7 separate regions of the Homo sapiens genome follow, and all the other regions are linked to region 1. Evidence: promoter capture Hi-C in 16 types of primary human blood cells and fetal thymus (Javierre and others, 2016). All regions are on one chromosome and are shown on one strand. Each heading gives the region's core, a stretch centred on a gene start or on the middle of the fragment in contact. The rest is flanking DNA. Distances are from core to core; before and after follow the strand shown.

Region 1 (3,909 bases), core at 872-3,371:
TTGATTCTACAATTTTATGCATAACCTCTGAACCATACAATAGAGCCTGCATAGTTATTTAATACAGTTTAGTCAAAATCAAATGAAAATAAAAAAATCCTAAACTTACAAAGTTCTTCCCATTGTTCAAACTTAGGAAGTGAAAAATTGGTATTTCTCACTTTGAAACAGACTTTAATATTCAACACTGAAGACAATTATAAACAAATGGTACCATACATATTAAATATTGCTTAGCGTTCACATGACCATGTGCTCTTTCCTAAGCCTTAAGTCTTTAAAAATTGAACTTGAAGGTATTCAAAATAGAATAGGGAGGATTAGGAAGGAAACTCTTTTAAATTCTCATTATTAAATCTTGAATTATTTCACTGTAAATAAAGTGCAGTGTGCAATATCCTTCTAACTTTACCAATAATATCAACTAACATACAAGTCTCAAAAACAACTTTCCCAACGTGCCTAAAATAACAATGCACTATCCTTGCTTTCCAAACTTGAGTATCTTCGATTACTTTAAAGCAGTATCATAAAATTCTAAAAATAATCTCAAAGCAAAAATTTAGCAGGCTGTATGTAGACAGCCCATTTTAGAACAGGTCTTATTCTAAAGTCAAGCACAGGTAGAATATTGCAATCTACACCAAATCTACAACAGGGTGGGGCATTCATTACTCACCCAGATAAACCAAACATAACTCTGGTGGTTGATCACAGTAAACCCTAACTGTCCCCGTAATACCAACACAACTAAGGCACGGTTTACTCTTTTGCCCAAAATGCTTTTCACGCAAATTAAAAATTAAAAAAAGAAGTTAAATCATGGCCAACTACTCTTCAGAACATGGTGCAAGCCATGATAGTGCACTTAAGATTCTGAAAGCAAAATCTAAAATAGCAGAATGATCTCTATTCACTTTAAAGATATAAAGTTTCACAAACAGTTTTTTAATTGTTTTCTTTAGTGAGTGACCATTTGAATGTGTGACTGATGCAAGAGTAAAGGGTGAACGAAAGAACAAGGTCAAACTTAGGGGACAAAAGATTCCTGGAATAACATGGCCAGAAAGGTTTCCTCTCTTAGGGACAGTTTCTATATTGAAAAAAAAAAAAAAAAAAAAAAAAACAGAAAAGAAGAAGAAGAAAGGGAAACCTTAAAAGGAAAAGAAACCAAGCAAACCACCTACTTCTAGAGTCCACCTGGTCAACACGCCTGCCCCGCGAGGCAGGTAATTCGATTTTGGTGGAGACCGTTTTGCAAAATAGCAGGCCTGGTACACTACTACCTTTGAAAGACAAAATCGGTTCAGAAAGGATGACAACTAGCTATTCTTTCTCATTTAAGGGGAGAGAATAAAGTTTCATTAAGATGCCACACAGAGCACTGTAGGAATGTGAGGGTCGCTCTCAATACCTGGCACCGTCTGCTACGGGAAAACAATCGGCAGAAGGAAGTGGATTGAAGCCCGCAAACTACACTCTGCTTCCCACACGCAGCTGGGCTCTGGGCGCGACGCCCCCGAGGCGATGGGCAGGGGCCGGGGGTGACCGGGGAGGAAGCCCGGGAAGGCGGCGGCGGCGAGGCCGGGGCGCCCGGCCGCAGCGGGAGAGGACAGCCCGTCGGAAGGAGAAGTGGGGCCCGCCGGCTGGCGGACTCGCCTCACCTTCTGCGCCGCGCTCTGCTGCAGCACGTTCTGCTCCACGGTCATGGCCCCCGCGGCGGCGGCGGCGGCGGCGGCGGTGGCGCCCGGCTCCTCGCGCCTCCGCCGGCCCTGGCTGCCGCGCTCCGCCGAGCTCCAGGGAGCGGCGCGGACGGCCTGGGAGGACAGCGCCCCCGCCAGCCAGGCGCGAAGGCGATGGCGGCCGGCGTGCGCGGGCACCGCGGGCAGGCGGCGAAACGCCGACTGTGAGGGCCACGGCGGCCGCCTCACGTCTCCACGCGGCCCGCCTCAGCGCCGCTCGTCCGCGGCGGCCCGGGCCATGAGCGGGCGGAGGACGCCGGGGCACGGGAGAGCGCGAGCCAGTCGGGCGGCGTCACGCGTTCGCACGTTCCTTTGCTGCCGGTCCGCGGGCTGCTTTGGGGAAGGGAGAGAGGGGACGGAGGGAGCGGCCGCCCGGAATGGCGTTGTCCTCCTCCCTCCGCGAGTCCTCCTCCCTCCCCTCCCCCACGCGCCATCCCCGCCCCCGCCCGGCGGCTCCTCCCCCGCAGAGCCCCGCCCGCCGGCCGCCCTAACCCTACATTGTGACCCTCCGGGCGGCGGGGCGGGGCCGCCATGGAGCCCCGCCCCTCCCTGCGCGGGCCTGGCGTTCCCGGGTGGGGCGAGGGCGCGCCTGGCTGCCTGGCCCGGGAGCCGCCCCTGCGGCAGGTTGCGCGACGCTGGCGCTGGGCTTCGGGGAGCGCGACTGGAGGCCGGAGGGCAGCGTTCCTCCCTGCGCCCAGGGCTTGTCGGATCCCTAGCTTACCCAAAGCCTCCAAAGCAAACATTTCCCTCCATGCCCATAACGTCCCAAAACTGCGTAGGGTCCCGAACTCCGGCCCCTTTCTGTGTCACGCGTTCTCTCCCCTCGCCTTTCTAGGAATTTCACAAGCCTTGAACTTGCCTGAAGGGAAAAGTCAAATAAGCAAAGGGTTGCCAGAAATCTTTATGCTGGGAAGTACTTTTCTCCTTAACTAATCATTACGTAAATGAATATAGACATTTTCTATCTACCTTCATTCATTCGAATATGTGTCAGTCACTGCTAGGCTCTGGAAAAATAAAGTTTATCTTCCCAAGACTTAATATAAATGAAATAGGATCTATCTAGCAAACAACCTTACAAAAATATCACTGCCTAATGATACATAATTCTAATATCCCAGTTGCCAAATTAAGCAAACAATTAACTACCATGCATGGAATGCTTGACTATATATGGAATTGTAAGGAAAATCTAACATTAAGAAAGCAATCTCTAGCCACAAAAATATCTCGAGTTCCAGGAGCTAATCTGGGAACGGAGGTGAGAGTGCAGCAGTGTGAGGAGAGAAATTATCAATGCATATTGTCACAAATAGAATACACTTGAAAATCCGGGTATAATTTTTAATCCAATGACAAGGAAAGCAAGCTTGGCAAATGCTAATTGAAATAGTATGTGGTGTTATTTAATAATCATGGATTATAGTAGCTCTTAAGGCTTTGTAACAGTTCTGTGCACTTTACAACCATCTTTGTTCTGCAGCTCAGATGTCTGGTACCACCTGTTGTCACCTTTTCCTTGAAGCTTCATATTTGTTGACTCATTTGATATTTAACAAATTGCAAATCTTATTATATTAATATCCTATGTCTTTTCTAGAGGAAATGAAAAGTCATGAAACGGTTGGAAACAGAAATTTAGAAATACTGTCACATCTCTAATCTCACGTATCGATTTTTTTATAACTCTGAAGCCCAAGGAGGGTGACCTGTCAAAGAGAGCTTATCAAAACCCATTTTTCTTCATTTATAGATCAAAGTTTCTTCTTTTCTTGTTTATATGCTAACTTCATGTTTCTCCATATGAGGGTTTTGGTTTTTTGGTTTGTTTGTTTGTTTTTTAGAAATCAAGCTCATACATTTGAATTCAAGAAAATTAAATTTAACATAAAAATCTAGTAATCTAGTACCATGGGAGGAAAAATGTTGCCAGATACTAAGGTTTAATTTCAAGAATTTGGCAATACAACTTTTCTCTGAGTTAAATTTGTTACTTCCATACAGAAAAAAAAAGATGATCTTACAATAGATAATCATCAAATAGAGCTTTTATATGGTAGACCTATTTGCCCACTGAGACTGTTCATTTTCAGCTTACTTCTGAGGGTTTCCTACTTACTCAGCATTTCTTTAAATATTTTTAACTGTTGTACTGAAGAACATTGAG
Region 2 (3,909 bases), core at 836-3,335, 1.9 Mb before region 1:
TAAAGAGGAGGGCTCTGCCTTGCCATACCAATTCATTTGTGATTTTGTGATTCCAACTCACAAGGAAAGAGAGCTGGGGCAAAGCATCTGAAGCACACAAGAGTAGGGCAAGTTTTGAAAGAGACATAAAAACAAATACTGTGTGTGCAAGGGAAGTGGATGAGAGAAAAAGTGTTTAAGAGACATTGTTTGCTATGTGTCTATTTCACAGTGTTCAGCTATGAGAATTTTTTTTTCTTTTTTTAGACAGAGTCTTGCTCTGTCACCCAGGCTGGAGTGCCATGATGTTATCATAGCTCACTGCAGCCTCAATTTCCTGGGCTCAGGTGATCCTCTCACCCCAGCCTTCAGAGTATCTGAGACTACAGCTGCATGCAACCACACCTGGCTAATTTGTGTATTTTTTGTAGAGATTGGGTTTCATGATGTTGGCCAGGTTGGTCTTGAACTCCTGGAGTCAAATGATCCTCTCTCCTTGACCTCCCAAAGTACTGGATTACAGGCATGAGCTACAGTGCCCAGCCTGAGAATTTTTTAAAAGTCATTTTGAAATTGGGTTTCAGGTTCTTGCCTGTATTTTTTGAATATGGTACTGCTCTAAGACTGGAAAATGTGGACCACAGATTTATAAATACTACACAAAATACTAATCCTAAACTATAGAAATTTCTGGACAAATTTTGAGTAATGTGGGTGGTTACCTAGCTATTTTATGAAACTGCAGAATTAAAGGCCTTTATCTGTAAAAATAACCTCATCAGATTGTTATGATTTTAAAATAAAAACACCTTCACACCTCCTAGAAGACTCCAAGGTGTAAATATCCTCTTTAAATGTACCAGTAAGTAGACTAAGTCCTAGAAGAGTATAATTTTTTTTTTTTACAAATAAAGTTTATTGTACTGTTTGGGGGATGGTATATTTATTACTGCTAAAAAAATTACCATTTTGAATTGCTAATTGGCTATAACAAAGATCAGTAATACAAATTTAAAACATTCATAAAACTGAGCTGAAAACATGCTCCCAAGCCTAGTGGGCAGTAAGGAATCTGGCCAATATACTGTACAACTTGAACATTCAGTTCTTAAGTAGTTTACAACATGGTTTAGCCCTCTTTTAATAATAATAATAAAAAGGTAGGAATATCTTGTATTCCTCCCGCTAGTTGGATGTATTAAAGTGCTTTCACAAAACTAAGACCATGGTGTTAACTCAATATAAAAGGTTGAAAAGATGTTCCTTCTTTTCTTCAGAAAGTTAATGTTCCCTCTCCATATTTGTATTTGCTCAAAGATGAAGCTTTGCATCTGGGAAGTCCTTGAGTAGAGTGTCTCAGAAATAGAAAGCCTGGACTCTCAAGGCTTCATTCCTTTGGCCAACATCTTTGGAGCCTCTCCTTTATGCAAAACACAGTGGCCGGTGCCAGGGCAGCACACAAGCGTCCACAGGAGGCAGGCCCTGCTGTGAGGGGCCAGGGAAGGGCCCAACTAGGAGTGCCAACAACCGCCTAAAATACAGCAGGGCGGCTGCACGGTTAACGTGCGTGTAATTGACTACAGCAAGAAGGATGAGGATCTGTCCATAAATGCCAAGTTCCCCTTCCCGTCGAGTCCGTGTCCCCCATGAAGCCCCGGGTCTAGAGAGCTGGGTCTAGAACTCGCCATTCCGCCCTGAGGGTGTCAAGTGCAGCGTGGAGAGACCTGAGGGGGAAACAAAAAGGCCGAGACAGCCGAAAGGACCAAGCCCGCGCGACCCCCGAAGGCGCTGACGCACGTAGGGCGGCCGGGCGGGGGTCCCACAGGCCTTCAGCGCCGCTTTTTGCCGGGGAGGGAAGCCCGCGGTTCTGCGGACCGCGCCGTCGCGGTCGAGGGTCTGCGCCAGGCTCAGGGTAGGGCGAGGGTGTGTCGCCTCCCGTGCGGCTAGGCCCGGGGCTCGGGGGTGGCCTCGCGGCGAAGCCCCGCCCCCGGCACCGCCCCTCAGGCGCGCGAGCCGATCCCGCGCGCGCCAACCCTTTCCCGGGTCATCGCCCCTCCCCTCTTCCGGGCCGCGAGCCCCCTGCGCGCCGCTTTGGGGCTGCGCTCACTCGTGTGCGCGCTCGTCCGCCCGCCAGTCCTCTCAACGCGCGCTTGGCCGCCCGACGACGCGGGAGCCGCACGCGCCGGACGAGGCTCGCTGCGCTCCCTGTTGCCCAGCGCGGGCCCGTTGAGGCGGAGCCCTCAGTTCCCGGCCAGGACACGGTCTGGGCCGCCGAATCTCCGGCCGAAGAGCGGCGGCGGCAGCGGCGGTGAGGAGACCGGGCCGGGGAAAGGCAGACATGGCGGGGCTGTGGGTATCGGGGGAGGGTGGTCCCGTCGCCCCTGCGGCCACGTCGAAGGCTCGCTGGCGGGCGGCGCACCGGGGACAGGGGAGGGGCAGGGGATGGAACCAGGTTGCATGGGCTCCGGCTCGGCGCCAGAGCGGGGCTGCGGGCCGCGAGGGCGGCCCGCGAGGCTTTCCGCGGGACCCTCGGCGGGCGCCTGAGGAAAAAGACGCCGCCTCAGGGCTCCTGCCACGTTTCCCACAGCGCGTTACATTCCGCCTCCGGGTGGGCGACAACCCCGCGGCTTCCCACCCTCTGTCCACCCCCTTCGCGTCGGTGTTTTTTCTGGAGCTCCGCTTGTTTGCTGGAGAGTCGCGCCTCCGGGAAGCCGGGTCCTCGAACCCAGGGCCGCCCGCCGGGGACAGCGGACCCGCGGGGCAGGCGCACCCTGGCGAGGATGTTGTCGGGGAGGCTGGGCATTGGGCGCCAGGGCCCTTCCCCTTGAACTTGGGGAAAACCGGGATTGCAGAAGTTGGGCGCAGCTCAAGGCGGTTCTTTCAAGAGCGGGTGGAGATGTTTGATCCCTCCTCACCTACCTCTCTCAAAACCCCAGCGGGAGAGCCTAGCAGCAGGTTTCGATGGCTTCAGAAAGTCCAACTCTTAGCCCCTTGGAAAATTATTTCCCCTCTTCATGGCTTTGTGGCGCCGCTGAGGTCGGGCCGGGGCTCCTCACCCCACGGGCCAGTCTTCTCGCGCCCTCCACCTTGGGAACGTCTATCAGGAGAAAAATGTGTTCCTAGAAACGTTTGCGATTAGCTTTTCGTTACAAGGGAGGGAAAAGTACAAAAGTTATAAACTCCTGCGAGGCCGAGCTTGATTCTGGATTCCCTTTGGGTTTTATCCACGCAGCCGTGAGCAGAGGAGCCTTGTGGAACAAAGTAGAACTTGAGGAGCAGCCGCCGCGGTGACGAGGTCCCAGGATGACGTCACCGTGCGATATTTAAAATGGGAGCCTTTTGCTCTGAGTGTGGGTGGAGGACGCCTACTTACTCAAGACGCCTGAGGTCTTCTTGGCCCTGCTTGCCTCTGGTGGTTCTTGCCCTGACTGTAACTCTCCCTCTTTCACCTTTTGGTACTCCTAGAATACTGGTGGGAGTGGGCTTATTTTTCAGCTGTTCGAGCTATCATTTCTTCAAACGGGGAAAACAAAAGTCCAAATGAGTCATCTTGTGTTACAACCAAAAGCAACCACTAAGTGGTTCTTTCCTTCTTTTCTATTTTTTTATATGAAGCAGAGCAAACAGAAACAAATCCAGAACTCAGATATGTGGCACATAGTTGGCAAATGTAATGAATGAGGAGAAAGATCTAGTTAAAAGATTCAGTACATTTCTTTAGTGTGGTTCCTTGTTTGCTTTGCTGGAGTGGAGGCTAATGTAGTTCCATCAGCAAAACTTTCTTCCCAACCCGTATATTAAATTGCCTTGGGTTTTCTTTTCCATCGTATCGTGGTGGAATATAAACGTAGCTTTACAAAGTGGAAATGGCTTACATTTTTCAGGAGGAGGCTGCACAGCAGTCGTGGTGGGCTGGGGTTATGTATACGT
Region 3 (3,909 bases), core at 425-2,924, 1.5 Mb after region 1:
GTTGCTTAATTGCTGAGTCAAAGGGTAAGATTGTTAAACATTTTGACACATTGACAAATTAATAAAAGGTTGTGACAAAATATATTGTGATAAACAATGATTTTCCATCTCAAACACTAATTAACTCACTTGTAAAGTGCTTGAAGAACGCCTGATACATAGGGCTCAATAAATTTTAAATCTTCATCATCATCATCACATCATCATCATGAACATCCCCTTTGAGTTAATGTTTACATTGTAAGTGTGTATGTAAGCTACTTACAATCATTTTTTATATCCAAGGAGGACTAAACAAGTGCTCAAATAGATTGTCTTACTAAACTATTGGCATTTTGTAACTTTGTCATCCCCCAATATTTTCCTATTTAATGCAATGAACATTAATAACCTCATCTTTCTCATATTGGCAGTAGGCAAAATACATGATAATGAAGAAGCATGATTTTTAATTTTGAAACTCTATATTATACTGCCTGATATGCCAGTATTTTTCAGTATGAACTCATAAAGATGAAAGTAAATGTGCAAGAGTCATATTATAATGCCACATTGAAAGCACAAAGAGAAAAGGAAATTATAAGTGAAGGAGGAAAGATTTGTATTTTAATTTATTAAGTAAAATTTGTTAGGAAAAATTTGTTCTAGGATGTATGACACATTATCTTTCTTCCCATATTCTGAAATGATGTGGCTTATTTATATCTTTGTTAGAGAGGTGCAGTTCTTACAGCTAAGTGCTGTGGAAGGACCTAGATTATTTTTGGTCTTCAAACAAATTGTAGTGGTGGTATTTTTTAAAAAATGGAAATCTCATGTAAAACACCCAGAGATCAGACAGTTCAAAATAATGATGGAACTTCCTCAGCAGTTAAATGTTTGTGATTTTTTTAAACTAATACTTCATTTTGTTTGTGAATTTTCTCAAATACTTCCCCAGACCTCAGATTAGTTTCTGCAGATTTATAACATACAAAAAACACTTCTGTTCTTACTGTATTTTTGGAACTTTAGAGAAACTTGAATTTTTTAAAAATGAATTAATTTTTAAACTTTCAATTTATGTACTTAGAACAACTCCCAATTTTTCTTGCTTACTAAAGTCCATTGCTAAGAAAAGAAGATAATTAAGTAAACATGTAAAAAGAAAATGTATGCTAATTTTAAAATGGTCATCATATTAAATACTTTTTTTTTTATAATTTTCACCTTTTAGCCTCAAGTGATGAGCCAAAATTTTGAATGTTAAAATAGCCCCTGCTTTGGGGATGTAAAATAACATAAATATGAAAAGCTCATCTTTTATACTTGAAAGAGCTTAATGGATATGGCTTTCATTATTGATTTATGGTATATAAAGATATCTTAGTTTGTAGTCAAAGTGAATATAAACCACAACTTTTTCTGACTCTTTCCATTTCTAGCATTTTCTAACATCACATTTGCATATTTTCCTGACCGCTTCTGAAATCCTGAGGTTAAAAGGAATACAGAAAGATGTAATTAGATTTATCATTCCCTTAAATTCAACTTGTGTAGCTGAAGGTTTGTTTGTGACTTATTACAGAGCCTGTGACTTAAAAATCCTTCCCACAACCACAAGCTAAAGTGGGAGAAAACAAACTACCTCACCTTTTCAACCAAGAGGGAGGAGCAAAAATCAGTGAACTTTTACAGAAGAACCTGCCAGCCTGTGATGATCCTACCAAAGAGAAACCTCAATGAGTTACGGAATTTCCTTTTTGGTGAATTGAGTGCTGTTTTTGCTTTTCTCAGATTCCAAATGAGAGTATACATTTTTCTTTGTTTGATGTGCTGGGTGAGATCTGGTAAGATATTAATTAATAATTTGATTTATCTTTAAAAATTGCATATAAAATAGTGTGGTCTGTATTCTGGGATAAAGAATGTTATGATATAATGGGATAAAAATATGTTAGATTATTGGTACTAATTATAACAAACATTACTATTAAGAAAACTTCTGTGTGTGTACGTGTGTGTGTGCATGTGTTTGTTTAATAAGTTGACATTTTGCATTTTATTTCCTTGCCAGATAATTAGTAACTAGAAAACCTTTTTTTAAAAAAAGATGTAACTAGAGAATAAATAGAAATACTCAAGAGAAAAAAATTCAGTAATGGAGAAATTAATTTGGTATTTAAAATTATGCCTTAAATATCTTGTTTCAATTTTATTTGTTTAACTAGCTCTACTTTTGAAGAAAATTCTTACTTGGATAAATTATCGATTGCAAAACAAACAAAATAACCAGATACTACAACTTTTGCTCTCATTCAGTATGACGAAAAACAAAGCTGGTTTATGGTAATAAGGTAGAACTTTATTCTGGTTTATTGGCGTACAGTAATAAAGTTTATCAATATTAAGAGTATCGTTTTCTACTTTATGAGAAAGTAGAATTACTTGTTCGACTTATAAGTAGAACAATTAGTTCTACTTTATGGTAATAACAGTGGCAAATTTAAAATTCAAGATGATAGTTTTCTGTAGGGGTTTTATGAGAGCAGATTATTTCCTTTATGTTTTAAATTTATTTGAAATTTGTTAATGCATACTTGAATAACTTTAAAATTAACTAGAAATTACCATTATTTCTTATGTTTTCAATTGGCTATTTGAGATAACCATAAATTCTGGAAATGTTTGAATTTTATATTTAAATATAGAAACTAAATGATACTGATATGTAGTTTATAATTTATATTATTACTCTTAAGTTTCTTGATAGGGATTTTATGTTATTATAATGTAAAATAGTGGCACCTTCAGTTGAAAGCCAGAGAAATTTGAAGTCTAGGCCCCTAATCTTATGTGTCATTTTTAATACAGTTATAATCATTTTAATATCATAGTTTACATTAAAAACTTATTTGACAGACTTTCTGATATTATTGTTTTGATTAGTATTTATTTAGTCAGTTGCCTAAATTTTCAGTTGGGAAAATTCAAACATAATTGCTTTGTATGTTTCTGTCTGCTAATTCTTGTGTAATGATGATTAAAATACAATAGTAGAACTTTTAGATATTAACAGTAGTAAATAGAAAATAAGTGAATTACAAATTTTACTGATCCTCAAATTCATTTTTAACCCATGTAGACTCTATGCATTCTCTCATTTTCCTTGAATCTCTACTTGATTAAAAAATTTTGTTGATTTCCAGTAGTTTATTTCATACAAGTGTGTTTTATTTATTACACATGCTCCTTTCTTCTCCACTAGAGATTCTGATATATACCTCAAGGAGGGCATGTTTCATGGTTGTCAACATGAAAATCATTGATTAAATCTGCCTTTAATAAAGAAACGACATTCCGAAAAGCAGTTTAGTCAGGTGTTTTTAAAAATTGTAAGTAGAATAAAATGGGAGAGGAGAGATAGATCAAAAAACTTTATACAGATATACAGTACATCTATGTATCTGTATATTCAAATTATATGCATATATGCATATTTATTCTTAGTACAGTTACCAACTTATTGTAACCATTTACACTGAAATTTTTGTTGTTGCTGTTATTATATTGCAAGGGTCAGAAATTCTTTTTTTCTTTGGACAGGGTCTCATTCTGTCACCCAGGCTGGAGTACAGTGTGAAGTTCATGGCTCACTACAGCCTCGACCTCCTAGGTTCAAGAAATCCTCTGGCTTCAGCTTGCAGGGTAGCTGGGGCTGCAGGCACACACCACCACGCCTGGCTAATTTTGTAATTTTTGGAGAGACAGCGTTTCACTATGTTACCCAGGCTGGTCTCCAACTCTTGGGCTCAAGTGATCTGCCCTTCTCAGCCTCCCAAAGTGCTGGGATTACAGGCATGAGCCACTGAGCCAGCCAGGAAATATTTTTGTAAACGACCAGATAGTAAATATTTTACGTTTTGTGGG
Region 4 (3,909 bases), core at 422-2,921, 1.5 Mb after region 1:
GACATATGTTATCCTTATCTCCTAAGAGACATTCCTTAATACATATTTCCTAAAATGCCAATCACAATGAAATAATTTAGGGCTAAGGTAAACTTCAGAACTAAAGGAAAGGCTGAGTGGAAGTTAATAAGTTGTTTAAAGATCTATTACTTTCTAATTACTCAGAAACATATTTTTCCCTTTGGCATGATTCCAAGTTGCAAAAATGTGAATTTTAAAAGAAAAAAATCTTGTATTTTCCAGTTTAAATTTTCAAAAACATGAATTATAGATAAAGCTACTGTATTAGTCTGTTCTTATGCTGCTATGAAGAAATGCCTGAGACTGGGTAATTTATAAAAGAAAGAGGTTTAATTGACTCACAGTTCTGCCCTGCTGGGGAGGCCTCAGGAAACTTATGATCATGGTGGAAGGCAAAGAAGAAGCAGGCACCTTCTTCACAAGGCAGCAGGATGAAGTGAATACCAGCAGGGAAATGCCAGACGCTTAAAAAACCATCAGATCTCCTGAGACTCACTCATTATCATGAGAACAGCATGGGGGAAACCATCCCCATGATCCAATTACCTCCACCTGGTCCTGCCCTTGATATGTGGGGATAATGGGGATTACAATTCAAGGTGAGATTTGGATGGGGACACAGACCCAGACCATATCATTCCGCCCTTGGACCTCCCAAATTTCACATCCTCACATTTCAGAACACAACCATGCCCTTCCAACAGTCCCCCAAAGTCTTAACTCATTCCAGCATTAACCCAAAGTCCAAGTCCAAAGTCTCATCTGAGACAAAGCAAGACCCTTTCACCTATGAGCCTGTAAAATCAAAAGCAACTTAGTTACTTCCTAGATACAATGAGGATACAGGCATTGGGTAAATATGCCCATTCCAAATGAGAGAAATTGGCCAAAATAAAGAGGCTACAGGACCCATGCAGGTCTGAAATCCAATAGGGGCAGTCATTAAACCTTAAAGTTCCAAAATGATCTGCTTTGACTCCAAGTCTCACATCCAAGTCATGCTGATGCAAGAGGTGGGCTCCCATGGCCTTGGGCAGCTCTGCCCCTGTGGCTTTTCAGGATACAGCCCCCCTCCTGGCTGCTTTCACAGGCTGGTGTTGAGTGTCTGCAGCTTTTCAGGTGCATGGTGCAAGCTGTCGGTGGACCTACCATTCTGGGGTTTGAAGGACAGTAGCCCTCTTCCATAGTTCCACTAGGCAAGGTCCCAGTGAAGACTTTTGTGGGGCTCCAACCCCACATTTCCCTTCTGCAGTGCCCTAGCAGAGATTCTCCATGAGGGCTCTGCCCCTGCAGTAAACTTCTGCCTGGACATCCAGGTGTTTCCACACATCCTCTGAAATCTAGGAGGAGGTCCCCACACCTCAATTCTTGACTTCTGTGCACCCACACGCTCAACAACACATGGAAGCTGCCAGGCCTTGGGTCTTGCAGCCTCTGAAGCAATGGCCTGAGCTGTATGTTTGTCCCTTTTAACCACAGCTGGAATGCAGGGCACCAAGTCCTGAAACTGCACAAAGCAGCAAGGCCCTGGACCTGGCCCATGAAACCATTTTTTCCTCCTAGGCCTCTGGGCCTTTGATGGGAGGGGCTGCCATAAAGACCTCTGACATCCTTGCAGACATTTTCCCATTGTCATGGTGATTAACATTTGGCTCATTACTTATGCAAATTTGTGCAGTTGACTTGAATTTCTCTTCAGAAATGGGTTTTTCTTTTCTGTCTCATCCTCAGGCTGCAAATGTTCCAAACTGTTATGCTCTGCTTCCCTTTTAAACAATTCCAAACCATATCTTTGTGAATGCATAAAACTGAATGCTTTTAAGAGCACCCAAGTCACCTCTTAGAATGCTTTACTGCTTAGAAATTTCTTCCACCAGATACTATAAGTCATCTCTCTCAAGTTCAAAATTCCACAGATCTCTATCTATAGAGGACATGGACAAAACGTCACCAGTCTCTTTGCTACAGCACAAGAAGAGTGACCTTTACTCCAGTTTCCAACAAGTTCCTCATCTCCGCCTGAGACCACCTCAGCCTGCACTTCATTGTCCATATCACTATCAGCATTGTGATCAAAGCTATGCCACAAGTCTCTATGAAGCTCCAAACCTTCCCACATCTTCCTGTCTCCTGAGCCCTCCAAGTCTCTAAGGAGTTCCAAACTTTCCCACATTTTCCTGTCTTCTTCTGAGCCTTTCAAACTGTTTCAACCTCTGCCTGTTACCCAGTTCCAAAGTCTCTTCCCCATTTTCTGGGAACCTTACAGCAGTGTCCCACTCCTGGTACCAAATAACTGTATTTGGTATGAATAAATACCTGATACTGGGTAATTAACAAAGGAAATAGGTTTAATTGACTCACAATTCTGCACTGCTGGGGAGGCCTTCAGGAAACATATAATCATGGTAGAAGGCAAAGGAGAAGCAGGCACCTTCTTCACAAGGCAGCAGGATGAAGTGAGTGCCAGCAGGGGAAATGCCAGATGCTTATGAAACCATGAGATCTCATGAGACTCACTCATTATCGCAAGAACAGCATGGGGGAAACTGCCCCCATGATCCAATTACCTCTACCTGGTCCTGCCCTTGACATGTGGGAATAATGGGGATTACAACTCAAGGTCAGATTTGGGTGGGGACACAGACCCAAACCATATCAGCTACATAAAGCAAAATTTAGTTTTTCATTTTGATTAGATAGAAATAAACTAATATTTATGTTTCAAACTTCACTATATTATATATTTGTAACCAAGATTAAAATTCAGTTACTCTCTTCATTAAAAACATATCTTTATTTTTTTAAATAATAAATATCTATAAAATGCTAGGCAACATGCAAAAGAAACATCCAAGCATGGCTTTTACTATTGAATTGAGTGGTTAATTCCCAACTGAGTTGCATGACTCTTTCAATTAGCTTTAGTAAATATATATATTCATCACTCTAGTTTGTAATGAGCTATAAACAAAAATGCCCAAATAATTTTATTTTTCTTCTAAAATAAATAAACCAAAAATAGGAAACTTGATTTAGACAATAAGTATTACATATCATACATTAATAAAATATTATTCTATTTACTTGCTCATTTTCATGATTTAAATGTTAATATAGCATCTCAAACCTTGCTAGCAAAAGAGGTGAATAATACACACTGACATAGCCAACTGATTTTAATGACATACAATTAATATGTGAGAAGAGGAAGGTATCCCTATAAATACACAATTGTATAAAAAGGGAATGATCCAAAAGTTGGTTTCATGATAATTATCTTTCCTTTGGTATCATTATCATATGTCCTCACTTTATAAAATAAACCTGAAGAAGAATATGGCTCAGAAACAACATATTTAGGTACTAAAAGAAAGGGGTACTAATGCCTGTTTATTACATCCTCATTAGGAACAATATGCAATCCTTAAATATCTGCACTACTTTCTTTCAGGAAATCCACCACTCCACATTGAATCCCAGCCTATTTGTAGTTGAGTGTTGGTTATAGGGGATAATCAAAGGGAACATGATGCTTTATCAATGTGTTCAATAAGTGACTTTTGATTAATAGTTTGGTGAAATTTCATCATTGGTACTAATAAAATGACAATAGTCTATTTGTTGCCAATGGGTCAAAAATATCATGACAAATACAAAAAGTGGTACATTATACTATTTTTAGAAAGCTTTTGTCGTTCAAGGCAAAAATTGAACAGCAAACCAGAGATAAGTCTTATTACTACATATTTCAAAAGACAAGATAGCCATGACATTGTTTATTTGATGGGATAACATCTTATTTTTTTCATAAGAGAACTAAGATCAGTGTAGGTAAGTTTCATTTGTAGGTAATACTAGTATCTTTTCTTCTTCTTAGACTTTCGGAAC
Region 5 (3,909 bases), core at 874-3,373, 1.5 Mb after region 1:
AGCTGTTAAACCATGCTGCTTTGTTGAGTGTTCTCTCATTCTTGGGGAACAAAGCTTTGCTTTTCAGTGTTTGTACTGACAGAATGTTGGTCCATTTCCATGTGCCCTCTCATAAGTACAAATAGAACTCTTGAACAAATGTGGAATAATTATTGTGGTCTAGAGGGAAAATCATATTTACTAAGCATTTACAAGGTACTTAGGACAATCTTAGTACTTTAGCCCCAACGTGGGGATAGATCATTGTCTCCCACTTTGCATATAAAATTATGCAAATTTCATTGGTCCATGATTCTGTACTTAATATGGGATGGATATGGATTTCAGGTATTCCATTTCATGAAGAAATATTAAAGGACCTGTTATATAGGGAATTTAGAACTGCTAGAATATGGTAAGTTCTGAAAATGTTCTAAGTAACCATATAAATCAAATTAAATGTATATGTGCCTGCAATCAGATTACTTATCATTACACACTTGACTTAAGTATTAATAAACAATGAATCTTCAGGTGAGTGTTAAGAAGAATTAATACCCAGTTTATTTGATTTAAAGGTACCAAATAGCCCTCAAAAGCTATGGTGACAGGCCTGGCCAACATGGTTAAACCCCGTCTCTACTAAAAATACAAAAATTAGCCAGTCTTCATGGTGCATGCCTGTAATCTCAGCTACTCAGGAGGCTGAGGCAGGAGAATCGCTTGAACCCAGGAGGCAGAGGTTGCAGTGAGCCAAGATTGCACCACTCCGGCCTGGGTAACAGAGGAGATTGTCTCAAAAAAAAAAAAAAAAAGCTATGGTGACAGATTAGTTTACTTTCAGGATATTAGGCTGCCATTAAGTCATCAGCACTGATGTGATTTTTATGAAATGTTTATTTTTTATGTTTAAATGAATTGTCCTAGCATGTCTTTATATGATTTTCCTAGTTAAAAAAATGAAAATTACAGAAAATATCAGTACTTTAAATTTACTTTTGAGATCATTGGAAACCAAAATCAGTCTTTGTATGGTATTTTTACCCCACCTGCTTGGTTTGATTTTTGTCTATTTTATATCTCATGAATAAAAGTGTTATTTAATAACTTCTTGTCATTTTAAGAACATGACTGTAATTAATTTGCTTCACTCAGCTTCTAAGATAACCACTAGTAGAAACAGAAGAAAATAAAACTCACAACAGCCATGGTAGTATCTTGCCTGGGTCTGGGAGAATTTTCTGGAGACTGCCTGGCTGATGGAAGTAAGTGGCCAATGAGTTCAGCTGTGGGAAACAGCAAGCCATCTATAGGGGAACCTGCCCCCAATATTTCAACATAGGTTCTTTCTATTTCCCCTAAGTGTCAGCTGGCCTGAGAAATAAAGAGAAACAGTACAGAGAGAGGAATTTTACAGCTGGGCCACCAGGGGTGACATCACACATTGGTAGGTCTGTGATGGCCACCTGAGCCGCAACACCAGCAAGTTTTTATTAGGGATTCCAAAAGGGGAGGGAGTGTACGAACAGGGAGTAGGTCACAAAGATCACATGCTTCAAAGGGCAAAAGGCAGAGCAAAGATCACATGCTTCCGAGGAAATAGGGCAAGGACAAAATCAGGAACTCCTGATAAGGGTCCAGCAAAGATCACAAGGCAAAGGGTAAAAACAAGATCACAAAGCAAAGGGCAAAATTAGAATTACTGATGAGGGTCTATGTTCAGCTGTGAATGTATTGTCTTGATAAACATCATAACAACAGAAAACAGGGTTCAAGAGCAGAGAAGTGGTCTGACCTCAAATTTACCAGGGCGGGATTTTTTTTCCCCACCCTAATAACCCTGAGGGTACTGCAGGAGACCAGGGCATATCTCAGTCCTTATCTCAACCACATAGGACAGACAGTCCCAGAGCAGCCGTTTATAGACCTTCCACAAGGAATGCAATTATTTTCTTAGGGTCTTAATATTTAATATTCCTTGCTAGGAGAAGAATTTAGCGATATCTCTCTTACTTTCACGTCTGTTTATAGGCTCTCTGCAAGAAGAAAAATATGGCTCTTTTTACCTGACCCGGCAGGCAGTCAGACCTTATGGTTATCTTCCCTTGTTCCCTAAAATCACTGTTATTCTGTTCTTTTTCAAGGTGCACTGATTTTATATTGTTCAGACACACATGTTTTACAATCAGATTTCATATTGTTCAAACACACATGTTTTACAATCAGTTTGTACAATTTGTGAGTTTTATTTTATTCTGTTTATACTAGTGGTTATCTTAGAAGCTGAGTGAAGCAAATTAATTACAGTCATGTTCTTAAAATGGCAAGAAGTTATTAAATAACACTTTTGTTCATGAGATATAAAATAAACAAAAATCAAACCAAGCAGGTGGGGGAAAAATACCATACAAAGACTGATTTTGTTTTCAAATTATCCCAAAAGTAAACAAGCAATCATCACAGGGTCCTGAGGTGACCTGTTACGAAGATAACAGGATTAAGAGATTAAAGTAAGAGGCGTAAGAAATTATAAGAGTATTATTAGAGAAATGATAAACGTCCATGAAATCTTCACAATTTATGTTTCCTCTGCCACAGCTCCAGCCCGTCCCCCTGTTTGGGGTCCCTGACTTCCCACAACAGCCATCCTTTCTTGATTCTCTGCGACTTTCTTCCTGTTTCTAAATGCAAATATCTTTATTGAATAGTAACCTTGACAGCCATTGATCTACTGCCTCGATGCTACTTTGTCATGTCAACATCTAAATTTTAAGTGAACTTTTTCTACATTACATTAGAGACCAAAATTCCTATCATACAAATGGGATGGAACCAAGGGCCATCTGAAAGTAAACTGGTGGTGGCAGATTACTATTTTCTGCAAGATGTAATGTCTACAACAAGCATGAGAAACAGGGAGGGGGTCAGGAAGACCTTCTCTCATGGTGCACACTGGGGATTTTACAGATCCATGTGCATTATCTGGTAGGAATGTTAAAAAGCCAGAGGTGAACATAGAAAGAGCTCATTTAATTTCTGCAGAACCCAAACAGATAAAAGCCTTCATAGCAATGAAAGAGCATATGAACTCAGCCCATGGTCCACCCATAGCCCTCTGATTCCAGGTAAGAATAAGATTTGTACCCCAGTTGAAACTCAATGGACATAAACTCATTCCTCACTTCATGTAATTGGGTTAACACTGCAGCTGGGAGAGTTCTCCTCATTTAGGAATGAGTGTACTTATAAAAGAGGGAATATTAAAATGTATTATACAGCAACAGAGAACAAATCATGATATTTCGGAGAAGAGGCAAATTCCAAAAATACTTACTTTAAGAAATGTAGTAATGAGCATGTTTATTATTCTCTTCAGGACACAAGATGCTTCAACATTAATTAAATATGAGAAGAAGACTACAAAGAAAGAACAGGTTGGTATGAAAGTGAATAAGATGTAATTTAAAAAGAGATGGATGAGAAAAAGAGTGTTCTTGTATATCCCATAAGTGGAAAAAAAGGCCAATTTAGAAGAATGAAGTGTATTTCAGGTAAAATCAATGAGAAGAATGTCACATTTTAAATATTCTATAAATAAGATGGCAATAGTATTGATAGGGTTTGGGTCTGTGTCCCTATCCAAATCTCAGGTTGAATTGTAATCCCCACTGTTGGAGGTGGGGCCTGGCGGGAGGTGATTGGATCATGAGCGTGTGATTTCTTCTTAATGGTTTAGCACCACCGTCCCTTGGTATTCTATAGTGAGTTCTCAGGAGATCTAGTTGTTGAAAAGTGTGTAGAGCCTCCCCACTCTCTCTCTCTTCCTCCTGCTCCTGCCATGTGACGCTCCTGCTTCACCTTCTGCCATGATTGTAAGTTTCCTAAGGCCTCCCCAGAAGCTGAGCAGATGCCAGCATCCTGCTTTCTCTA
Region 6 (3,909 bases), core at 378-2,877, 1.4 Mb after region 1:
AGGTATCCTGTCTTGAGATCCTGAACTCTTATTTACTATGTTTTTGCATTCTAGCTTTTAAATTTTCTTTTAAAAGAAAGTCCCTTTAGATCAGGTAGAACTATTCACTATTTATATGCATATTAAAATGCAACATTAAGTTTTCTAAACCCTTCTGTATCAAGGCTATGTTTAGAAGTAAATGAAATTGCCATTACTCAGCCATTTTTTGACCTACAGAAATGACTATTTTATATGGTCCAACCTAATGCTATATTTAAAGAGGCATGGATCCCACCCCCACCACAAGCTTTGATTTTATTTAATATGCTTACAAAGATACTGGTTTAAAATCCTGTTTTTTAAAAGATTTTGGAAGTTTTTCGAACTACAGACTATTTTTTAGTGTTTCCTCTGGAATGAGACATCTTGGTAGAGAAGTAGAAAGAGCATCATCAGCTATGTAGTCACGTAAACCTAGATTCCAGCTCCTCTTGGAATCTTAATATCATATTTGGTAAAATAGAGCAGATAATTCCTTTCTTATATTATTTAGTGAGAATTGAAAGTGACACATGTTCCAAATATATTGCACATTACCTGGCACATTGTGGGCTTTCAATAATGAACATTCTCATTATCCTCAAAGAAAGCAACTTAATGTTACATAGGATTTTTCTCTATCAGCTATGGTAAATATTTTGTCTATTGAAATTTATCATTATTTTATGAATCTATTTTGAAGTTATAATCTTTAAACAAATCATACAATCATGGAATAATCTTTTTTATTACAAACGTGCTACCTCTCTGTAATCCAATCATTTTGAGTGCTTTGTACTTTGCTTCTAGTGTACATCAATAATTGATCAAGCTTTATGTACATAATTGAAATAAGAATAAAATATTAATTTCTTAAAACAATAAAATTATCTTTGAATAACTTTGATTTAGTCACTTTTTGTGTTTTTTACTTTTGCTTTTCTTTTACTCTGTATTACATATGAAGATAATGTATATCTGTATATATATGCAGAAAACTACCCGTATTCTAAATATGCAGATTGATGAACATTCACAAACTGAATGAGTGCTCAGATTCACTTCAAGAAACAAAATGCTACCATTAATCCAGAAGTCTACCTTGTGTACCTTATTATAACCCTCCCCACCAAGGATAACCAGTATCCCAACTTCTAATAGTATAAATTAATTTTTCTTTTAAAAAAATTATATAATTAGAATCATGGAGTCATATAGCAATATTCTTTTGTGGCTATTTCACTCAACATTCTTTGTGAGATTCATCAAATTGCCTAATGTACACAGTAGCTGTTGTACCTTCATTCTATTAGCTAGATAGTATTCTATTATGTGAATATACCACAATTTATCCAGGTTACTGTTGATTTCCCATTAGATTTTAAAATTATTCAGCTTCTCTGATTTACTAAAATTATAGGAGTAGGGAGCTAAAACATCTTTTAACTCATATGAATGAAATATTTTGATTCCTTTCTTAATAGAATTCAACAGCTATTTATTCAATGTTTACAAAGCACTTCAGGGATTGTAAAGACAGGACAACACTTCAAGTAGCTTACATCCTTAAGGGAGGAGACTTTAGATAATACAAGTTTTCTAGTTTAAGGCAACTTTTCATAAATACCCTTAGGAAATAGAGCAAGGTTGTACAGGGCTGCATACAGAGGAAGAAAGGAGGACAAAAGAAATGGTTGATGGGCTTTAAAGAACATGTTAAACTATTTTATTAATATCTTCTTGAAAGAAAATCCTATTGAAGTTTAAAGACTTTAAATTTGAAGGGCAATTCAGAGACATAATGTTGCTTCCTTTAAATAAAGCTACTAAAGAAAAAGCCCTTCAAAATCTGATTAGGACTACAAATCAACAATCCTCTCATAAATGTAATAAAATATCTCACTGAGGTATATATATTAACCAAAAAATAATGTTCCAAAGAAAATATTAGGTTTTTTCTTCACTCAAAGGTAAATAGTAAAAATATAAAACATTATAAACAATTATAAAATTCTGTTAATATATAATTACTCTTTCCAAAAAGCAGCTGACTAGCTTATTTTTTTCTGTGATTTCTTCATCATTTCATAAATTACACAATAGCTCAAAATATATTTGTAAAACTTATTTGTTTTCATTTTTTTTGAAAGATGGGGTGTCTGTCACCCAAGCTGGAGTGCTATCGTGTATCATACCTCACTGCAAACTTGAACTCCTGGGCTCAAGCAATATTCCCACCTCAGCCTCCTGAGTAGCTGGGATTACAGGTATGCACTATCATGCCCATCTCATTTTTTTCATTATATTTACTTACTTTTTGTAGAGACAGGATCTTGCTTTGTTGCCCACGCTGGTCTCAAGTTCCTGGCTTCAAGCTTTACTTTCACCTCGGCCTCCCTAAATGCTGGGATTATGAGTGTGTGCCACAGTGCCCAGCCCACATCCATTTATATATAAATAAGTACTTATAGTACTCTAAAATGTCTAGCTATTCATTCTGCAAACATTTGCTCGGCATCAGTTATGTGAAAGGAACTATGCTAGGAACATAACATACAAGGATGATTAAAACTGGGCACTTGCCTTCAAGGGGAAAGCAGACTTTAAAATGGAGTATGAGCCCTGCCATGATAAAGGTATGCACATGGGGCTAATGAAAGCACAGAAAAGGGGCGTCTAGATCACACTGGAGGGCAGAGGGGAAGATCGGGGGACACATTGAGAAGGGAACTCCCAAGAGAAGTCAGGGACTTAAAGGACAAGTGGCATTTGGCATTTTGGCCAATGTGAACAAGGTAAGCACGAACGGAAGAGGGAAATCTAGGTACAGCCCAGGATGGTTACAAACTGTGGTGATGGCCGGGGGCCGTGGCTCACACCTGTAATCACAGCACTTTTGGAGGCCGAGGCGGGCAGATCACCTGAGGTCAGGAGTTCGAGACCAGCCTGGCCAACATGGCCAAACCCCAGCTCTACTAAAAATACAAAAATTAGCTGGGCATGGTGGCAGGTGCCTGTAATCCCAGCTACTCGGGAGGCTGAGGCAGGAGAATCGCTTGAACCCGGGAGGCGGAGGTTGCAGTGAGCTGAGATCAAGCCATCGCACTCCAGCATGGGCAACAAGAGCAAAACTCCATCTCGAACAAATAAACAAACAAAAACAAACAAACAAACAAAGAAACTCTGGTGCCTATGAGTGTGTGTGCCAACTCATAGCAGCGGCCTGCCCTTGTGCATTTCTCTTCTGTCTTTGCTTTTTAAATACTAATGCACTGTAGTGTTTTTTTACTAGGCAAATTAACATACAGCTAAAGTAATTTGTTTTTTTGTCACTGAGTCTTGTGTTATTCCAGCATCCGTTGTCATTTCATAGAAAAGTCCTTTCTGACGTATCAAATTCTGAGGCGCTTCGAATTCCACAATGCTTCCTGAGTCTAGAACATGCACCCTGAAATGTGAAAAGAATAGTGTCAGATAACATACAGTCTTCCACCTCACATTTTATTGGTCCTGCTAATATAAAGTTTAAACTATTCTATGAGTTATTTCAGTACAAAATATAGGTGCTAGTTAATTCAGGAACTATATCAAGTTCTCTAGTAATTATTCTTTTACCTTTAACTTTTTCTTCCAATTATTTTGGAAAATACCTTCTATATATATCATTATCTATATCAAGTTTTCTAATATTCTTTTAGCTTGAACTTTTTCTTCCAGTGATTTTGGAAAATACCTTTTATATCATTAGGGAAAATTTTGTATCTCTCAGCACAGATATAATTATTTATGACCGGCATGTAATCAGTGTGTTTCATATGCCCAATATTTATCTTGGCAGAAATGATTTTATTTCTGAAAAGAAAGAAAGCACACTTGTCTGAATCAATG
Region 7 (3,909 bases), core at 522-3,021, 1.3 Mb after region 1:
AAACTTCAGCTACAAGGAAAATGGTTCATATATAATTTCATACATGCAATATGATAATTAAATTATATACTTGGTGTCTACGCCAACAATAAATGAGAAAGAAAGCTAAGCAATACATTTAATTTCTATGGATAACCAACAAAGTAATGAGACCCCATACCTACCCATCTACCTCTTTTGCTCCACTCCCTGATCAAAGGAAAAATATTGCTCAAGGCAAATGAATGGTTATTGTCTCTTTTTATTATCTAATCCTGCTTAGGAAAAGGTGAAGAATTTGTCCTGAATTACACAAGAATCTAAAGTAGACACTAATAATGATAAGAGTTATAATGATAACTATGCTACTATTAATGAGTGCCTATTAGTTGCTAAGCATAAAAAAGGTTTTCTCTTATGTCATTCTTGCAACAGCCCTGCAAAGAAGGGATTGTGATCCCAATTTTTGTAGCTGAGTTGCCTGAGGCTCACAAGACCTGGAGAATGTTCTCTCAGATTGTGTATTGGCATGTGAAGGCAGGTCTGTCTGGCTCCAAAGATTCTGCTTTTTGCATGATCCCACCTGGCCTATCTGGTGAGGACACCTGTCCCTGTTTCATTCTTAAGAAGCTAAATGTCAACATTGAAGGCCACTTCAAACTACATCCAAACGATTGCATGCCAAAATGTTAGTGGACTACTATGGTGAAAATGATAAGTATTGATAGAAAGATCTTGCTAGAAATTCAAATGGCAGAGTTTCAATTAATAATTTCAAAATTCATTCTCAGTATCCTAGAGTCATTATGAAGCCTGACATTGAATAATAGTTAACAACATGATAATCCTCCTGCTAGGTTTTTGTTTTATATTTGTTTGTTTTAATTACTTCTTTGTTTGAAGGATATAATTCAAGCTACTCTACATTCTGGCCTACTTTTTAAATGCTCTTGACATAAATAACTGACATAGAGATTTTACTAGGCTGCCTCTCTCATTTTGGCATGGCTTTTCACTACTATTGATTAGTATATCCTTATCTGGAAAACAAATCATCTCTGGTTTATAGCTTCTAAATAAGAGAGAAAGAAAGTTAAGGGCTGTTCACTATTTAGCTGTAAAGTTCTTTCCAGTTCTGCAATAATGTACAGTAGAGAGGAAATGACAGAAGTTAAGGTGTTCAGTCACTTTCACCTACCCTAACTCACAAGTAAAAATTGTCATTTCTGAGGTCAACAGTTAATTCAAAATATGATATTTTTGGCTCAGAGTTTTAAGTTTACAACATAAGAAATCTGGAGAACTTCTAGAATTGTATATTACATATGCAAAGCTCCCTCTCACTAGGGAAAAAAAAAGAGCTTCCATGAAACATTGTTTTTATTGCATGCTGGGCTACTGAGAATTTCAGGCAAACCTGTAAGGGACAAAAAATAAAATAAGTTTGCTAAAACTCAAAAAGAAAAAACAAAAGAATCTCCAAGAGACAGTGATGCCTTTGGAGCAAATGCCAAGATCATCACTCCAAATCCTGGGCCAGTAATGAAACAGCGAAGATAAACTCGAAAATCACAGATGTAGCCAGGGGCCTACGACAGGCTTAATATAAAGCCAGGTTGGTTGCTCAGAATCAAGTTGAATCATCTTAAAAATTTTTTTCTAAAACTGACATAAATAATAAAAGGAAGAAAAATAGTCAACACACTCATGAAGAAGAGAGAAAAAGTGAAGATCTTTGTCCTGATTAACAGCATAAACTATTATAAAAATATAATAATTAAAACAGTATTAGATCAATTGGCCAGTAAAACAAAATAGAGAGCTCAAAAACAGACTTGTGAGTATTAAAATTTAATATGTGATAGAGATAGCCATGCAAAACATTGCAGAAATTAGACTATTCACTAATAGTGTTGGCTCATAGTTATAAATATGGGGGAAAAATAGGATCCTTACAGCACACTACATGCACAAATCAGTTCCAGGTTGATTAAAGGCCCAAATATGAAAGTTAAAAAAGATAAAATAGAAGAATGTATTAATGACTCAGGGTAGGTTAGGAGATTTTAAATGATACAAAAGGTACTAATCATAAAATTGACCACATTATATAATTAAAAACTTATGTCATTTAAAGATATTACAAAGATATTTAAAAATAAGCCATAGAGACATTTGCAACATGTATAACTTGTAAAACATTAGTAACCAAAATATATAAAGAATTCCTAAAATTGGAAAGAAAAAAATTAGAAAAATGAGAAAATTTACATGAACAAGCATTTATAGAAAATAAAAAATGGAGAGTAAACTTATGAAAAATTATTTAATTTCATTAACAATTAGAAAAATGCAAATAAATATCACAAACAGATGTCATTTTACTTTCATCAGACTAGAAAATATTGACCAGCATGATAAATGCTAAGTGTTGGCAAGTATGTAGCTCAATTAAAAGTCTATGTGGCTATTGTGAATAGTGCCAATATAAAACATGGGGGTGCAGGTATTCTTTTGATGACTGATTTCCTGTCTGCTGGATAAGTACCCACTAGTGGAATTGCTGGAGCATACAATAGTTCTTTTTTTAGTTTTTTGAGAATCTTTCATACTGTTTTCCATAATGGTTATACTAATTTATATTTCCACCAACAGTGTATAAAAGTTCCACCTTCTCCTCATCTTCACCAGCACTTGTCATTTTTTGTCTTTCTAATAACGGCCATTTTACCAGAGGTGAGATGATATCTCATTGTCTTTTATTTGCATTTCCCTGATGATTAGTGATGTTGAGTATTTTTTCATATACCTGTTGTCATTTGTATGTCTTCTTTTAAGAAATGTCTATTAAGATCCTTTGCCCACTTTTTGATGGGATTATTTGTTTTTTTGTCATTGAGCTGTTTGAGTTACTTACATATTCTGGATATTAGTACATTGTTCAATGAATAATTTGCAAATAGTTTCCCAATTGTACAGGATGAATGGAATACTATTCAGCCATAAAAAATAAAATCCTATTTGCAGCAACATCAATGGAACTGGAGGTCGTTATGTTATGTGAAATAAACCAGGCACAGAAAGACACATATCACTGTTAGCACTCATCTGTGGGAGCTACCTCTTATGGAGGTAGAGAGTAGAATGATGGTTACTAGAGGCTGGGAAGGGAATGGGGATGAAGAGAGGTTGGTTAATGGGTACAAACATGGGATAGAAGGAATAAATTCTAGTGTTTGATAGCACAGTTGACTGACTACAATTAATAGTAATCTAATGTGTATTTCAAAATAGCTAGAGGGGAAGATTTGAAATGTTCCGAACATAAAGAAATGATAAATGGTTGAGGTGATGGATAGCCTAGAAACCCTGGTTTGATCATCAAACATTGCACGCATCAAAATATCACAAGTACTCCATAAACATTTACAATTATTATGTATCAATAAAAAGTCTACATGGCATTGGTGGAAGTATAAATTTCATAAAAAGAACTTTGGAAAACAATTTGGTACCATTTTGTAAAGTTGGACATCAGTTCTCCTATTTCTAAGCCGTAGAGAAATGCTTGCACAATTACATCACGAGAAATATAGAAGAATATCCACAGTAGCATTCTTCATAATAGCAAAACACTAAAAGCAATTGAAATGTCCATAAACAAGATAATGGAAAAATACATTTGAGATTTTTCACATAATGGACTATAATAGACTAATGAAAATTAAAGACATATAGCTACAAAAAACAACTTGCAATGTAAATATTGAGAGAAAAAGTCACAGAAATCTATAAAGTGTGGATACCTTGCCACTTTGTCAATATAACTAATTTGGAATTACATGGCCCAGAAGTGCTTTCTCAGCGTGATTTCGAAATAACATTACTACAAAAGAAATTTGTCTAAGATTTAGAAGGTGAAAATTTTAA

What was found. The method cuts DNA at HindIII sites, captures the fragments that hold promoters and counts their contacts. A CHiCAGO score of 5 or more calls a contact.
Region 2: a contact is called between the fragment with the promoter of BTG3 here and the fragment with the promoter of USP25 in region 1, in 1 of 17 cell types (non-activated CD4 T cells). The highest score is 7.5, in non-activated CD4 T cells.
Region 3: the fragment with the promoter of LIPI here is called in contact with the fragment with the promoter of USP25 in region 1 in 6 of 17 cell types (activated CD4 T cells, naive CD4 T cells, total B cells and 3 more); the score reaches 9.7 in activated CD4 T cells.
Region 4: a fragment that was not itself captured here is called in contact with the fragment with the promoter of USP25 in region 1 in 1 of 17 cell types (naive B cells); the score reaches 5.1 in naive B cells.
Region 5: a contact is called between a fragment that was not itself captured here and the fragment with the promoter of USP25 in region 1, in 1 of 17 cell types (M0 macrophages). The highest score is 5.9, in M0 macrophages.
Region 6: a contact is called between a fragment that was not itself captured here and the fragment with the promoter of USP25 in region 1, in 1 of 17 cell types (monocytes). The highest score is 7.0, in monocytes.
Region 7: a fragment that was not itself captured here is called in contact with the fragment with the promoter of USP25 in region 1 in 2 of 17 cell types (M2 macrophages and total B cells); the score reaches 6.1 in M2 macrophages.

The regions. Positions count from the first base shown.
Region 1 is chr21:15,728,194-15,732,102 of GRCh38, reverse strand. USP25 (ubiquitin specific peptidase 25) reads right to left here and starts at 2,121. Exons shown (of 26, transcript NM_001283041.3): 1 at 1,665-2,121. The coding sequence starts at 1,709. RefSeq lists a silencer at 1,557-2,516. The HindIII fragment of the contact is 4,884 bases long and covers 1-3,113 here.
Region 2 is chr21:17,611,077-17,614,985 of GRCh38, reverse strand. BTG3 (BTG anti-proliferation factor 3) reads left to right here and starts at 2,085. Exons shown (of 5, transcript NM_006806.5): 1 at 2,085-2,287. It overlaps BTG3-AS1 (BTG3 antisense RNA 1), which reads right to left and starts at 3,300. Exons shown (of 1, transcript NR_149073.1): 1 at 872-3,300. It also overlaps a transcript of CXADR not described here. The HindIII fragment of the contact is 7,083 bases long and covers 1,305-3,909 here.
Region 3 is chr21:14,208,720-14,212,628 of GRCh38, reverse strand. It overlaps LIPI (lipase I), which reads left to right and starts at 1,674. Exons shown (of 10, transcript NM_001302998.2): 1 at 1,674-1,829. The coding sequence starts at 1,784. The HindIII fragment of the contact is 13,443 bases long and covers 1-3,909 here.
Region 4 is chr21:14,227,260-14,231,168 of GRCh38, reverse strand. It overlaps RBM11 (RNA binding motif protein 11), which reads right to left. Exons shown (of 5, transcript NM_144770.5): 5 at 2,797-3,909. The coding sequence ends at 3,876. Among named protein-coding and RNA genes, the nearest start is that of RBM11, 13 kb to the right of the region's middle. The HindIII fragment of the contact is 4,077 bases long and covers 1-3,709 here.
Region 5 is chr21:14,247,682-14,251,590 of GRCh38, reverse strand. No RefSeq gene overlaps it. Among named protein-coding and RNA genes, the nearest start is that of RBM11, 33 kb to the right of the region's middle. The HindIII fragment of the contact is 4,134 bases long and covers 57-3,909 here.
Region 6 is chr21:14,362,212-14,366,120 of GRCh38, reverse strand. No RefSeq gene overlaps it. Among named protein-coding and RNA genes, the nearest start is that of HSPA13, 19 kb to the left of the region's middle. The HindIII fragment of the contact is 1,543 bases long and covers 856-2,398 here.
Region 7 is chr21:14,398,075-14,401,983 of GRCh38, reverse strand. No RefSeq gene overlaps it. Among named protein-coding and RNA genes, the nearest start is that of HSPA13, 17 kb to the right of the region's middle. The HindIII fragment of the contact is 7,464 bases long and covers 1-3,909 here.